Regions from separate parts of the Homo sapiens genome. Here region 1 is linked to region 2. Evidence: promoter capture Hi-C in 16 types of primary human blood cells and fetal thymus (Javierre and others, 2016). All regions are on one chromosome and are shown on one strand. The core of a region is centred on a gene start or on the middle of the fragment in contact, and the rest is flanking DNA. Distances in the headings are between cores, read along the strand shown.

Region 1 (7,306 bases), core at 4,548-7,047, 55 kb before region 2:
GTCAGTCAGAATTGAGCATTCTATAAAAATTGCGCAAACGTTACTTTATGTCTTTATGACAACACTTCAAATTTTTACTTGTATAGTGTTGTCTTTTTTTAATCCATATTTGGATTTCTAGATGCCACAGATATTTCTCTGAGGAAAGTATTTATTTTGAGTCTGATATTTATTGTACTCTATGCTAGGTACAATGAGAGAAATGCAAAGATAGTTAAGAAAGACTCGGCCTTCAAGGAGCCTAAATGTGTAGAAAAGGACTAAGGCAAAACAATAACTTTTTTGAGCTCTTGCCATGTGTGAAGCACTTTATACACCTGTAAGGTAGGTAACGTTGTTCTTATTAAACATGAAGAAAATGAGACTTTGTGAGAAGCAATACAGTATAGAAGTTAAGAATATGGACTCTAAAGCTAGATTTCAGAGGTTTGAAGTAGCTCTGCTACTTACTGGCTGTGTGACTTTGAGCAGATTACTTAACCTGTCTGTGCCTATGTTTACTTTTATTGTTGTAAAAAGATATGCAACATAAAATATTCCATTTCAACCGTTTTTACGTGTATACTTCACTGACATTAGTTGCATTCACTATGTTGTGCAAACGTAGGGTCGCTATGAAGATTAAATGAGTTAATTCATATAAAGCCCTCAGAAGAGTGTCTGGCACATGGTGAGTATTGGCTGTACTGTGGTCGATGTCATTGTTAGAGAGCTTTAGTGATTTGCTTAAGACAGAAGGTAGACTGGGTGCGGTGGCTCACGCCTGTAATCCCAGCACTTTGGGAGGCTGAGGCAGGCGGATCACAATGTCAAGAGATTGAGACCATCCTGGCCAACATGGTGAAACCCCCTCTCTACTAAAAATACAGATACTAGCTGGGCCTGTTGGCGCACGCCTGTAGTTCCAGCTACTCAGGAGGCTGAGGCAGGGGAATCGCCTGGGAGGTGGAGATTGCAGTGAGCTGAGATCGTGCCACCGCACTCCAGCCTGGTGACAGAGTGAGACTCCGTCTCAAAAAAAAAAAAAAAAAAAAAAGAAGGTATATGGCAGGATGTGGATTTGATCTCAGGTCTTACTTTAAAGCCTGAACACTTGGATAAAGAAGGATATGACCTGTTCTAGCAGTGGTAGGAAAATTTTGAGAGGTTCCAGTCAGGGCATTACGAACAGCTTCAAGGAGAAACTAGCATTTAAGTTGGATCTTGAAAGACCTTAATAGCTTCATCTTTAACCTGGGTTGGTTAGCATTCCAATAATCAAAAGGGAAGGAATTCACTCAGCACTTGCAAACCTGCTAGATAGGCTCTAAAGCATAGAGATATATAAGGTACTCTTCCTGCTCTAATAAAATGGACAGGAAGAAAGAACAGAAACATGAAGATACAATGAATAGGCTACTCTGCCCTGTGTTTCTCTAATATGGAGTGATTGTGGTTCAGAATTCATTGCATCTAGGACATTCAGGGTTAGTGGAAGTTTAAATGGTAAAATTATCCTCCCTGGCCTCCCAGAGGTTGTTAGGAATGGATAGGAGGGATTGGATAACATGGGGTGAGGGAGAGTTATGAAATGAGATCTTTATCTGTACATAATATCTAGGAGGAAGAATTGACAATACATGTAGATACTGAGAATCAGACGAAAGAGGGAAACTAGAATTTTGTTTTATTCCTCTAAAAGTTGCTATTATTTGCATAACTTCTCTGCTTATACCTAATTACATATTACATATATGTTAAATGTCTGATTGCTTTGAGTTTTTGTTTTTTTTTTCTTATCAGATCCACAGAGGAATACTTTAGTAAATGAACTCCATCCATTTAAAGTGTACCATTTGATAAGTGTTTTTTTTTTTTTTTTGAGACGGAGTCTCACTCTGTTGCCCAGGCTGGAGTGCAGTAGTGCAATCTTGACTCACTGCAAGCTCCACCTCCCAGGTTCACGCCATTCTCCTGCCTCAGCCTCCCAAGTAGCTGGGACTACAGGCACCCGCCACCACACCCGGCTAATTTTTTGTATTTTTAGTAGAGACAGGGTTTCACCATGGTCTTGATCTCCTGACCTTGTGATCCGCCTGCCTCGGCCTTCCAAAATGCTAGGATTACAGGCGTGAGCCACTGCTCCCGGCCGGCCGATAAGTTTTTATACTTACGTATACTGATCACAATCAAGATATAGAACGTATATATCACCTACAAGACCCGTTCTGTCCCACCTCTAATGTGCTTTTTGTCAGTATAGAGGGGTATGCATTTTATATAAATGGAATCATAGAGTATGTATTCTTTGGAGTTTTAATCAGTTTTTAGGCTGGACGCAGTGGCTCATGCCTGTAATCCAGCACTTTGGGAGGCCGAGCAGGTGGATTGCCTGAGCTCAGGAGTTCAAGACCAGCCTGGCCAACATGGTGAAACCCTGTCTCTACTAAAAATACAAAAATTAGCCGAGCATGGTGGTGCGCACCTGTAATCCCAGCTACTCAGGAGGCTGAGGCAGGAGAATTGCTTCAACCTGGGAGGCAGAGGTTGCAGTGAGCCCAGATCGCACCACTGCACTCCAGCCTGGGCGACAGAGCAAGGCTCTATCTCAAAAAAAAAAAAAAAAGAAAAAAAAGAAAAGAGTATGTTTCAGTTTTGTAAGAAACCATAAAACACTTTCAGAATGGCTGTACTGTTTTGCCTTTCACCAGCAATGAATGAGAGTTCCTGTTGCTCCACATCCTCCCCAGTATTTCATGTTGTCAGTGTACTGGATTCTGGGCTTTGTAATAGAGGTAGAGGTATGTTGGGTTTCTTAGAATTTTTTTTTTTTTAAGACAAGGTCTCTCTCTGTTGCCCAGGCTGGAGTGCAGTAGCATAATCACAGCTTACTGCAGCCTTGAACTCCTGGGGCTCAGGCAATCCTCCCACCTTAGCCTCCTGAGTAGTTGGGACTATGGATGTGTGCCACCATGCCTGGCTAATTTTTGTATTTTTTGTAGAGATGGAGTCTCGCTATTCTGCCCAAGCTGGTCTCAAATTCCTGGGCTCGAGTGATCCTCCCACCTCGGATCCTCAAACTGCTGGAATTACAGATGTGAGCCACCACACCCAGCCAAGTTGTTTAAATTAATTGATTTTTAACAGTGCTGCTTGTATTCTTTCTTAGTCTCTGGGTACCACCCTAGAATATTAGGTGATCTTTAAGGTCCTTTTAGCTAATAGTCATATACTATTTTATTTGTATTCTTACCTTTGTTTGGAGTACGGCTTCTTTTTTTTTTTTTTTTTTTTGAGATAGAGTCTCGCTCTATTCTGTCACCCAGGCTGGAATGCAGTGACGTGATCTCGGCTCACCGCAACCAAGTAGCTGGGATTACAGGTGTGCGCCACCACGTCTGGCTAATTTTTGTATTTTTAGTAGAGATGGGGGTTTCACCATGTTGGCCAGGCTTGTCTTGAACTCCTGACCTCAAGTGATCTGATCGCCTCAGGCTGCTAAAGTGCTGGGGTTACAGGCATGAGCCACTGTGCCTGGCCTTTAATATAATTTATTATTCTAGTTTTTTAACAGCACTGTGTTTAACAACCAGCTTGCAGAATTGCTGAAAATTTAGGAAGCTTGTTCCAGCACACCACTGATTAGTATGAGAGGTTTGTTTTTTTTTTTAATTTTTGTTTGTTTGTTTGTTTTGAGACAGGGTCTCACTCTGTTGACCAGGCTGGAGTACAGCGGCAGGATCTTGGCTCCCTGCAACCTCCTCCTTCCGGGATCAAGTGATTCTCCCACCTCAGCCTCTGGAGTAGCTGGGACTACGGGCCAGTGACACCACACCTGGCTAATTTTTGTGTTTTTTGTAGAGTCTGGGTTTCACCAGGTTGCCCAGGCTGGTTGTGAACCCCTGAGCTCAGCCATCTGCCCACCTCAGCCTCCCAAAGAGCTGGGATTGAATATAGGTGTGAGTCACTGCGCCCAGCCTTAATATGAGCATTTTTTTTTTTTTTTGAGATGGAGTCTTGCTCTGTTTTGCAGGCTAGAGTGCAATGGCTCGACCTCGGCTCACTAGAACCTCCGCCCCCCGGGTTCAAGCGATTCTCCTGCCTCAGCTTCCCAAGTAGCTGGGACTATAGGTGCGTGTGATCACACGCTAATTTTTTGTATTTTTAGTAGAGACGGGGTTTCACTGTGTTAGCCAGGATGGTCTTGATCTCCTGACCTCGTGATCTGCCCACCTCGGCCTCCCAAAGATATGTGTGTTTTTCAATGCACATTGAGGTGGTTTTTGTGTGCAGAAAAACCTATTTAGAGTTATCTTTAGTTCTAATAATTATAAAACCTAAAATTTTAAAACTAAATTCTTTCTTAAACTTGTAGAATTTGTTTACAAATCTTATCCTATTTAAAGTGTAGCAAATTTTAACAATCACTTTTTTATTTGAGACAGAATCTTGCTCTGTCGCCCAGGCTGGAGTGTGGTGGCACCATCTAGGCTCAACTGCAACCTCTGCCTCCTAGGTTCACACAATTCCCCTGCCACAGCCTCCAGAGTAGCTGGGATTATAGGCGTGCACCACCACTCCCGGCTAATTTTTGTATTTTTTTTAGTAGAGACGAGGTTTCACCATGTTGACCAGGCTGGTCTCGAACTCCTGACCTCAAGTGATCCGCCTGCCTTGGCCTCCCAAAGTGTTGGGATTACAGGTGTGAGCCACTGCACTCAGCCAACAATCACCTTTAAGAGCCTATGTTTGGTTTAATTTCAAAGTTAAACATCTTAAAATAATTAAACTTTATAAATTAAAAAAATATTTTAAAGAACTTTGATTATTCAACAAACATGGACTACTTATATAATTTTTATAGATCTGAGACTTCTTAAGTTCTCTTAAAATGTTTCAGCACTGTATATAAATAGGAAACTTTCTGATTCACATAATCTAAAACAACTGATTACACATTTTAAACTGAATTTTTAAGGCTGACTTATTACTTCACTAGGCCAAATTCTCTTAAATTTTACAAAAGTTAAAATACCAAATATAGCTGGGTGCAGTGGCTCACGCCTGTAATGGTGGAGGCCGAGATGGATGAATCGCTTGAGCCCAGGAGTTTGAGACCAGTCTGGGCAACATAGCGAAACCCCATTTCTACTAAAAATACAAAAATTAGCCAGGTGTGGTGGCACACGCCTGTAATCCCAGCTACTCAGGTGGCTGAGGCACAAGAATCACTTGAACCTGGAAGGCGGAGGTTGCAGTGAATCAAGATTGTGCCACTGCACTCCAGCCTGGGTGACAGTGTGAGACCCTGTCTCAAAAAAATGAACAGAAGAGGCCAGGTGCAGTGGCTCACGCTTGTAATCCCAGCACTTTGGGAGGCTGAGGCCGGCAGATCACTTGAGGTCAGGAGTTCGAAACCAGCCTGGCCAACGTAGTGAAGCCCCGTCTCTACTAAAAATAAAAAAATTAGTGGGGTGTGGTGGTGTGCACCTGTAATCCCAGCTACTTGGGAGGCTGAGGCAGAAGAATCGCTTGAACCCAGGAGACGGTGGTCGTAGTGAGCCAAGATCACACCACTGCACTCCAGTCTGGGTGACAGAGCGAGACTCCATCTCAAAAAACAAAACAATACCAAAAACAAAAACAAATACAAACAGAGTTCTTAACATAAGAATATTAACACTATGCACGCTTTCCCTTAAACATTCTATTTTTAATTATAAATCATTCTGGGGATAAAAATGATAGCTAGGTGCGGTGGTGCACCTGTAGTACCAGCTGCTCAGGGAGGCTGAGGCAGGATGATTGCTTGAGCCCAAGGAGTTCAAGTCTAGCCTGGTCAACATAGTGAGGCCCCATCTCTTAAAACAAAAAAAAAAGATATTTACTCACTAATAAAATAAGTATGTTATGCCAAATTATTTTTATGTTACATGTATGTCACATGTAATTTTTAGAATTGACTTCTCTGCTTGCTGAGATTTTTTTTATTGGCCAGGATGTGACTAGATCCCTGTCTGAGCCCTGAAGGGACTAAGCAGACTCCCATAAATGTGTGCTTAGCTCCCCGCAGGCCACTTATATTGCTTGATTGAATTTGCATTTCTCTGGGTTTTAATTATCTGTATGCCTTCCTGCCTAAATGTAAAGTCCTTGAGACTTAATAGGATCCTTCATTCTTTTTATATCTTCCTATCTCTTAGTATCACCCAACTCTTAACTGTTATTGCAGTGATATCTTAACGATTTCTAGATAGCTTTTTCTTTTCTTTTCATTTTTTTTTTCCTGAGATAAGGTCTCGCTCTGTCACCTAGGCTGGAGTCCAGTGATGCGATTACAGCTCACTGCAGTCTCAACCTCCTGGGTCCAAGCTATCCCCCCACCTCAGCCTCCCAAGTAGCTGGGACTACAGGTGTACACCAGGTACCATAGTGAGACTCCATTTCATACCTGGTTAATTTTTGTATTTTTTGTAGAGTTGAGATTTCGCCCTGTTGCCTAGGTATCTTTGATACTTTTTTTTTTAAACGAGTTGTCGCTCTAGTGAAACATACAGAAACCTAGGAAATTTTTCTTAGATATAGACCTAATAGGAATAAATGTGAAGCAAATAGGAGGTGTATCCAACACAGAGGATAAAGCCACTACTTTTTTTGATTATGGAAAAGTAATCTGGTCTTATTTAGGTTCAGGAAAATCTTTATTACTGGCAGGGTATCAACATTTATTAATGAATTGCCAAGTTTCAATGTAGAAATATTGATATCAGTCCCCATTACATACACAAGAACATCACAAGTAAAATTTTATTGTAAACTGCAATTAACATCAACAGGTATATTCTTTTTTTTTTTTTTTTTTTTTTTTTTGAGACAGAGCCTCACTCTGTCACCCAGGCTGAAGTGCAGTGGTGCCATCTCACTGCAACCTCTGCCTCCTGGGTTCAAGCAATTATCTTGCCTCAGTCTCCTGATTAACTGGGATTACAGGCGTGTGCCACCACGCCTGGCTAATTTTTTGTATTTTTTTAGTAAAGACGGGGTTTCACCATGTTGGCCAGGCTGGTCTTGAACTCCTGACCTCAAGTGATTCACCAGCCTTGGCCTCCCAAAGTGCTGGGATTACAGATGTGAGCCACTATGCCCGGCTGGTATATTCTTTTGAACAGCCAGAAATTATTCTTTATTCCATGTAACTGAGCAAAATCCAGAATATAGTACCATAGTAACAAAGATATTTTCTTGCTACCATTCCTTGATATTTTACATCTGTTATTTTTTTTATAACATTCTCTCCACAAATGACGTAAAGACAAGGATGATTATT
Region 2 (7,071 bases), core at 4,391-6,890:
GCTATATCTGTACACCATGGCTAAGCTGTGACAAGAAAGCAGAGAGGTGTAAATGCCAGGGTGGGAGGTGAGAAGCAAGGAGATTGGGGGGAAAGCCAGGGCCAGAAATGAAACGTCCCTGTCCTGTGTGTCATGCTCCTGGAAGCTGGGCCTCCAGCTGGGTATGACAGCCAGTTTTTCATGTGAGCTTCCCCTTCTAGGATGAGGATCCACAGAGCTAGCAACCTTGCTGAGCTAGATACTAAGCAAGAGTCCTAGAAGCAGGTCCCATTATCAAGCCAGATGGGAGTAGGTTCTGGTACGGCCACTCTGTTCCGTGTTCCAGAGGTATCCAGAGTCCAAGGGGTGGTCTGCACCCCCGCTCCTCCATCACTCTCTCCTTTGTGTACTTGTCTCTCCAATGAGATGGTTAACTCCCTTGGGAGCAAGGAATTATCTGTCGCCCCTCTTCTTGTGTCTAGTGTAGTGCTCTGAACAATGGGTTTCAGTTAATTAAGCAAACATAAATGTATTCTTCTGGAGCACAGTGTTTTCCTCTGCTCATTATATGATACCACTTATCCAGAAGTTCTTTCCAAGAAAGTCCAGACAGCTCCTGGGGAGAACAAAGTGCCAGGTGTGAGAGGGCAGGTCCTACAGAATTGTTGCTTCCGGCCACAGAGTACTTATGCTAAAACATGTAAAAGTATTAAAATTAGGGCAGTGTGGTTATTACCATTTTACAGTTGAAGAAAGTGAGGTTCAGCCGGGTCACAGCTTGTACATGGACTCCTGGGTGCAGTGCAGTCCTGGGTGCAGTGCTCTTTCCACTTTCTTGACCCAGAGGTCTGCTTCCTGCCCATAAGCCAGGCCCTCCAGCTGGATGCCCGTTCCTCAGAAGCGGCCCTTTGTCCCACCCTCCATCATTCTGCATTCCCATTCTGAGCACCTACTGTGTGCCAGAACATTTCCAGACTGTGATGCTGGCTGTGAGAGGGCAGAGAGCAAGGTGAACACGGGTCAGATTCCCCCAAAGGGCGGAGGTGATGGGGATTAGTTTATGGAAGTCCTTTGGTGCCTAGCACTTGGCTGGACACTGTAAAAATGCCTCTGTTAGCCTGGGAAACCTAGCGACATCCAGTCTCTTGGAAAGAAAAAAAAAAAAAGCCAGGCATGAAGGCGTGTGCCTGTGGTCCCAGCTTCTGGGGAGGCTGAGGCTTGAGCCCAGCCCTGGAGGTTGAGTTTGCAGTGAGCCGTGATCGCGCCACCGCACTCCAACCTGCGCGATACTGCCAGATCCTGTCTCAGAAAAAAAAAAAAAAAAAAAAAAAAAAGCCTGTTACCCGGGAGGAGAGCTCCTCGCCCGACCTCTACCCTCATGAAGAGAGGCTCAGAGGGCTGAAGTGCCTATTTGGCCGAAAGCCGTGGCAGAGTGGCAAGGCAGGGCCAGGGGAAGCGGCTCCGCCGCCGGGGCCGGGCCCCTGTTTGGCCGGTGCCCGGTCCTTAGCCTGAAGGTGGCGGGCTTCCGCCAGAAGCCCCTGGCGGAAGCGGTGCCCGCGTGCGGGCCAGAGTGTGGGTGTGCAGGTCTCTGGGCGGCCCAAAGGGGGTGCCCCTGCCTGGTAACCTAGCGGGAGGGTGGGGACGGCGGGGAGGGCGGCGGGCGCGGGGCACGGCTCCGCTGCTCAGGGCAGGCTCCGCCCCCAGGGGCGCGGATTTAAAAGGATCGAAGGCAGCCCCGGAGCCCAGCGGCCGGGAAGCGCGCCCGAACGAAGCCGCGGCCCGGGCACAGCCATGGCCCGGCGGGCGGGGGGCGCTCGGATGTTCGGCAGCCTCCTGCTCTTCGCCCTGCTCGCTGCCGGCGTCGCCCCGCTCAGCTGGGATCTCCCGGAGCCCCGCAGCCGAGCCAGCAAGATCCGAGTGCACTCGCGAGGCAACCTCTGGGCCACCGGTAAGTCTTTGGGGACGGAGCAAGCAAGCGCCCCTCATCCAGTTCAGACCCCATTTCCTTCTCAACCCTCTGGCCGCTCCTCAGCCACGGACACTAGTGTCGGAGCAGGTGGAAAACCCTGGGGCTCATCTAATTTAATAGATATGTACTTGAGACCCGGACAGGTCAGTGACTTGGCTAAGGTCGCGCAGCCAGTTTAAGACAGGGCTGGGCTAGATCCTAAATCCCACTGCCAGCCGGTGCCCCTTACCTTAGGCGAGACTTAACCGAATCTTCTAACCGCTGGTGTGTTTTTGCTGCACCTCCACTTTCCAGGCGCCTCTTCACTCTCCACTTCCTACCCTGCCCTTTTTCGTCCCTTGTCCAAGCAGCCCACACAACTAGCAGAGTTTCTCCCTGGCCCTGGACCATCCCACCTTCCTGCCAGCTGTGCCATCCTCTCTACCTGTTCAGGAAAAGCTGAGGGAGCAGGCTTTGCCACCACCCAGACACCTTTGTGGCTCCTTGGTGAGGTGGAAGCACCAAGAGGAGGAAGGTTAAGTGTCTTCCCGCTACAAGAACGGAAACGTGGGAGAGATGAGGAACTTTTCCTCTGAGGTAGGATCCTGGCTGCTTGACTTCCTTGTGCCTGGACACCTCCTTTCCAGGTCACTTCATGGGCAAGAAGAGTCTGGAGCCTTCCAGCCCATCCCCATTGGGGACAGCTCCCCACACCTCCCTGAGGGACCAGCGACTGCAGCTGAGTCATGATCTGCTCGGAATCCTCCTGCTAAAGAAGGCTCTGGGCGTGAGCCTCAGCCGCCCCGCACCCCAAATCCAGGTGAGCCGGGCCCCTGCTCCAATGTCAGGAGGGCCCAGCTGGGGCCATCCCCGGATCCTGCATGGGAGGAATTACCACCCAGTACTGTATTAGGGTGTGACTGTCTGACTAGGACATTATGGGTGTGGACCCCAGAAAGCCAGGTTTCCAGGCTTTTCCCTCTTGAGGCAGAGCTCAAAGGAGGAACAGTCCAAAGAAAGGAAGCTGACCTTCCCAGTAGACCCCATGGGGCAAGAAGTAGGGAAAGAAGTTCCCCTGACTCATCACCCAGTCTAAAGTAACAGACTGGGATCATCAGCCTTTTGGAGCAGGACCTTTCTCCCCCAGTCTACACAGTCTTGTCCCACCCATGCTGTTCCCTGCTGCATTAGTCAAGTCCACCTTTGCTGTGTCCTGTGTATGCTTGTGGCCGGAATGGGACCCTGAGGCCCAGAGAGGGAAAGAGAAGTCAGCAGCCAAGACAGAGTCTGGACCTTGTTCACCTGGACTGGAGCTCTTCCCATTCTCTCATCTGCCTCAGTATCCAGTGGTAGGGTTTAGCAACTTCAGTACATTTGACGTTCTAGGCTGAATCACTGTTTCTTGTGAGGGCTGACGTGTGCATCATGGGATGTTTGGCAGCATCCCTGGTCTCTACATACTAGATGCCAGTAGCATCTTTCCCCCCCATCAAGTTGTGACAACTGAAAAGACCTCCAGACATCACCAGATGTCTGCTGGGGGAGAGGGCCCCAAATCATTATTGGTTGTCAGTCACTGATCTATGGGATTCAAGACTCCAAAGCTGGAGCCAAGCTAGCCTCAAGGTATAGCCCCGCTGAGTGGCAACTCCTTCATTCCCTGCTCCTGGTGCTGTCCTTACTGCACACCACCCTCCCTGGTCCTGCTGCTGTGTGCAGAAGGCAGTGTGATGTGGTAGAATGTGGGTTTTGACTACAACGTGCTGGGCTCATAACCTAGCTACTTAGTAGCTGTATGACCTTAGAAATGTCCCTTAACTTCTCTAAAGCCTCAATATTCTTCACCCATAAAATGAAGATAATAAGGCCCATCTCCCATTAAATGAGACCATTTATGTCAAATGCTCAGCATGGTGCCTGGCTCATAGACAGCCCTTAGTAGATGCGAGCTCTTATCAGTCTGTGAGCTCCCTGGCGGCACCTGTTGTAGACTCGCCTTCATATCCCCCAGTGTGCCTAGCATATAGTGTGTGCATTTTGAAGGGAGAGGCATTCCCTAGAAAAGGTCCAACCCAGCCTCAACCAACATCCCTGACTTCCTGAGGCACAGAACCAGCAGCCCCTGAGGACCTCAGATGTAAGGCCTAGGAGCTTGGGCTGGCTGAGTCTGAAGGGAAACAATGTCACCTCTAATGCCCTTGGTTTTGAAGCTCTGACACATGCAGACCAACTAGAGAATCTCAGAAGCAGCAGTGCCTACGTCTGGGGCTTCAGAGTGAGGTCTGGGGCAGAGCTGGGGTGGGGGAGTGAGGACGCTGACACTAGCCCAGCACCAAGCACTGTATTTGGATTTTCTTCCACGATCTTCTTTGACTGTCATGACCACCCTGGGTGGTTGGGGCTGTGTTCTGAGAAAACTACTGCCCCGACCCCTCCAAGGCAATTCAGGGTGCTCTGGGGCCTGCCTCAGCTGACAGCCTGCTGGTGCCCACCTCTGCAGACATCTGGCACTTAGGAATGGCAGGATGCCCCTATCTTTATCAGGAGCCCCTCCCTGGCTCAATTCTTCTGTATGTTTCTCTTCAGTACAGGAGGCTGCTGGTACAAATACTGCAGAAATGACACCAATAATGGGGCAGACACAACAGCGTGGCTTAGATTGTGCCCACCCAGGGAAGGTGCTGAATGGGACCCTGTTGATGGCCCCATCTGGATGTAAATCCTGAGCTCAAATCTCTGTTACTCCATTACTGTGATTTCTGGCTGGGTCACCAGAAATATCGCTGATGCAGACACAGATTATGTTCCTGCTGTATTTCCTGCTTCCCTGTTGAATTGGTGAATAAAACCTTGCTCTTTACATACAATGCCTGGTCCTCTCCTTTCACCCGTCTTTTAGGGGATGGGAGGAAAAGGGGGCTGGAGGGCAGAGTGTTCAGTGAGATGGGGCTGGCTCAAAAAGTCCAGAATACCCCATGCCATGGCACCAGCCTGGCACTGACTCTGGCCTCCTACCCATTCATTCAGCAAGCAAATAACGCCTGTTGCATGCCAGGCTTCGTGCCAGGCGCGGGGTTCTACTCTCATCTCTGCCACCTACTGGCGCAGGCAAGTGTCACTAGTTTCCTCGCTAGTAAAAGGGGGCTGCAGACACTACACTGCCGGGCTTTACTCAATACCCCCGCCGGACTTGGAGGGGAGCGCCGAGTTGGGATCCAGACCCTGCCGGCCGCTTCCTCTCTTCTCTGGCCGTCAGAAGGGTTGCCAGCGTTAGCAAATAAAAATACTGGACACCCAGTTAAATTCGAATTTCAGATAAACAATAATTTTATCTAATAAAATGTACCAAATATTGCATGAACATACTCGTAAGAAAGAAATTATTCACCGTTTTTCTGAAATTCGAATTTAACCGGGCGGTCCTGTATTATTTCTGGCCTTGGAGCATTCATTGCCCCTCTCTTGGGCTGCAAACACCTGGCCCTAAAACGGGCGATCATTTGGTCCTCAGGTCCTGCTTGGAGCTGACAGCGGGAAAGTCCCGATTTCAGGTCACTTTTCCCGGAGCTTTCGCGGAGAAAACCCGTAACCCACCCATGCCGGGCCGCAGCTCAGCCTGTTAACCCCGCCCCTAACGGGAGGCCCTGCCCACATCTCGCGAGAGCCGCGCGGCCCCCGAAGGCTCGCAGGCGGAAGTGAGACGCCGGAAGCGGTCGTTGCCATGGATCCTGGGGACGACTGGCTGGTGGAATCCTTGCGCTTGTAAATCGTACGGGGCTGGGACATGGGAGCTGGGCCTGGAGCTTGCCTGGCGGGCGGATGGGTGTGGGTGGAGGCACGTTGGGGATCCTGGTGCAGAGTGGGCCAGCTGTGGCCTCGGGGCTCGCCACCGTGGAGGACTCCGCCTGGGCCTAGGCCCCCATCTCTAGGAAATGGCTCCTTCCTGCGTGCGCGCGTTGTGAGATTACTAGTAAGAGCCGCGCTTGTGAAGACGCAGTGCCCAGTTAGTTTGCGCCAGCCTCTGAGTTCAGCTCAGAACACAGATGATCTCATTGATTCCTCACGTCAACCTTGGGAAATCTGGGTACCCTGGGACGTCCACACATGAGGACCGAGGCTCAGGGACATCAAGGGACTGGCCTGGTCCCAGAAACAGGGAGTAAAATGGGAAGTAAACTCAGTCCCACGTCTGCCTGACTCCAGAGTTTGGGCCACTGAACCATGCGGCTGCCATCTTGGAGTTCTTTGAGCTGTGAAGTGCTGTGCATCGTGTGATTCTGTGTCCCTTTTGTGCAGGTACCAGGATTTCTATGCATTCGACCTGTCAGGAGCCACTCGAGTCCTTGAATGGATTGATGACAAAGGTGGTATACCTTTCTAGCCCTGAAGGAGAGGGAATCTCACTCCTGAGCTGGGTTTCAGGAGCTAAGCCTAGAGGGACCCAACCCACTCTTCTGGGCACCTGAGAGTCACTTGTAGCAATTTGATGCCCCATCAGCACTAATATTCCTCTTATTAAGATCTCTGACCGGGAGCAGTGGTTCACGCCTGTAATCCCAGCACTTTGGGAGGCCGAGGCAGGCGGATCACCTGAGGTCAGGAGTTCGAGACCAGTCTGGCCAACATGGTGAAACCCCGTCTCTACTGAAAATACAAAAATTAGCCGGACGAGGTGGTGCACACCTGTGTACCAGCAGCTACTGGGGAGGCTGAGGCAGGAGAATCACTTGAACCCAGGAGGTGGAGGTTGCAGTGAGCTGAGATCACGACACTGTATTCCAGCGTGGCTAACAAAAAAAGTCTTCAGGCTGGGCACTTCAGGAGGCTGAGGCAGCGGGCAGATTGCTTGATCCCAGGAATTTGAGACTAACCTAAGCAAGGAAACCCTGTCTCTACAAAAAATACAAAAATTAGCCGAGCATGGTGGCTCACGCCTATAATCCCAGCTACTCTGAAGGCTGTGGTGGGAGGATCACTTGAGCCTGGCAGGTTGAGGCTGCAGTGAGCTGTGATCGGACCACTGCACTCCAGCCTGGCTGACACAGCGAGACCTTGTCTGAAAAAGACACAACCAGGTACTCAATTCCTCCATACAAGGCTGCACAGTGAAGGAATGTATCCTTACTTCGGGGGATTGCATGGTC

Evidence for each region. Contacts are between HindIII fragments. The CHiCAGO score rates a contact against its expected background, and 5 or more counts as called.
Region 1: a contact is called between a fragment that was not itself captured here and the fragment with the promoter of WDR73 in region 2, in 2 of 17 cell types (neutrophils and M2 macrophages). The highest score is 10.5, in neutrophils.

What each region holds. Positions count from the first base shown.
Region 1 is chr15:84,707,749-84,715,054 of GRCh38, reverse strand. The region is part of intron 1 of SEC11A (SEC11 homolog A, signal peptidase complex subunit); the gene reads left to right. Among named protein-coding and RNA genes, the nearest start is that of SEC11A, 4.7 kb to the left of the region's middle. The HindIII fragment of the contact is 4,390 bases long and covers 3,603-7,306 here.
Region 2 is chr15:84,652,852-84,659,922 of GRCh38, reverse strand. WDR73 (WD repeat domain 73) reads left to right here and starts at 5,640. Exons shown (of 8, transcript NM_032856.5): 1 at 5,640-5,689; 2 at 6,224-6,291. The coding sequence starts at 5,649. NMB (neuromedin B) reads left to right here and starts at 1,724. Exons shown (of 3, transcript NM_021077.4): 1 at 1,724-1,927; 2 at 2,575-2,747; 3 at 4,514-4,791. The coding sequence starts at 1,771. The coding sequence ends at 4,549. RefSeq lists a silencer at 1,609-1,768 and enhancers at 5,654-5,893, 5,320-6,287. The HindIII fragment of the contact is 10,475 bases long and covers 1-7,071 here.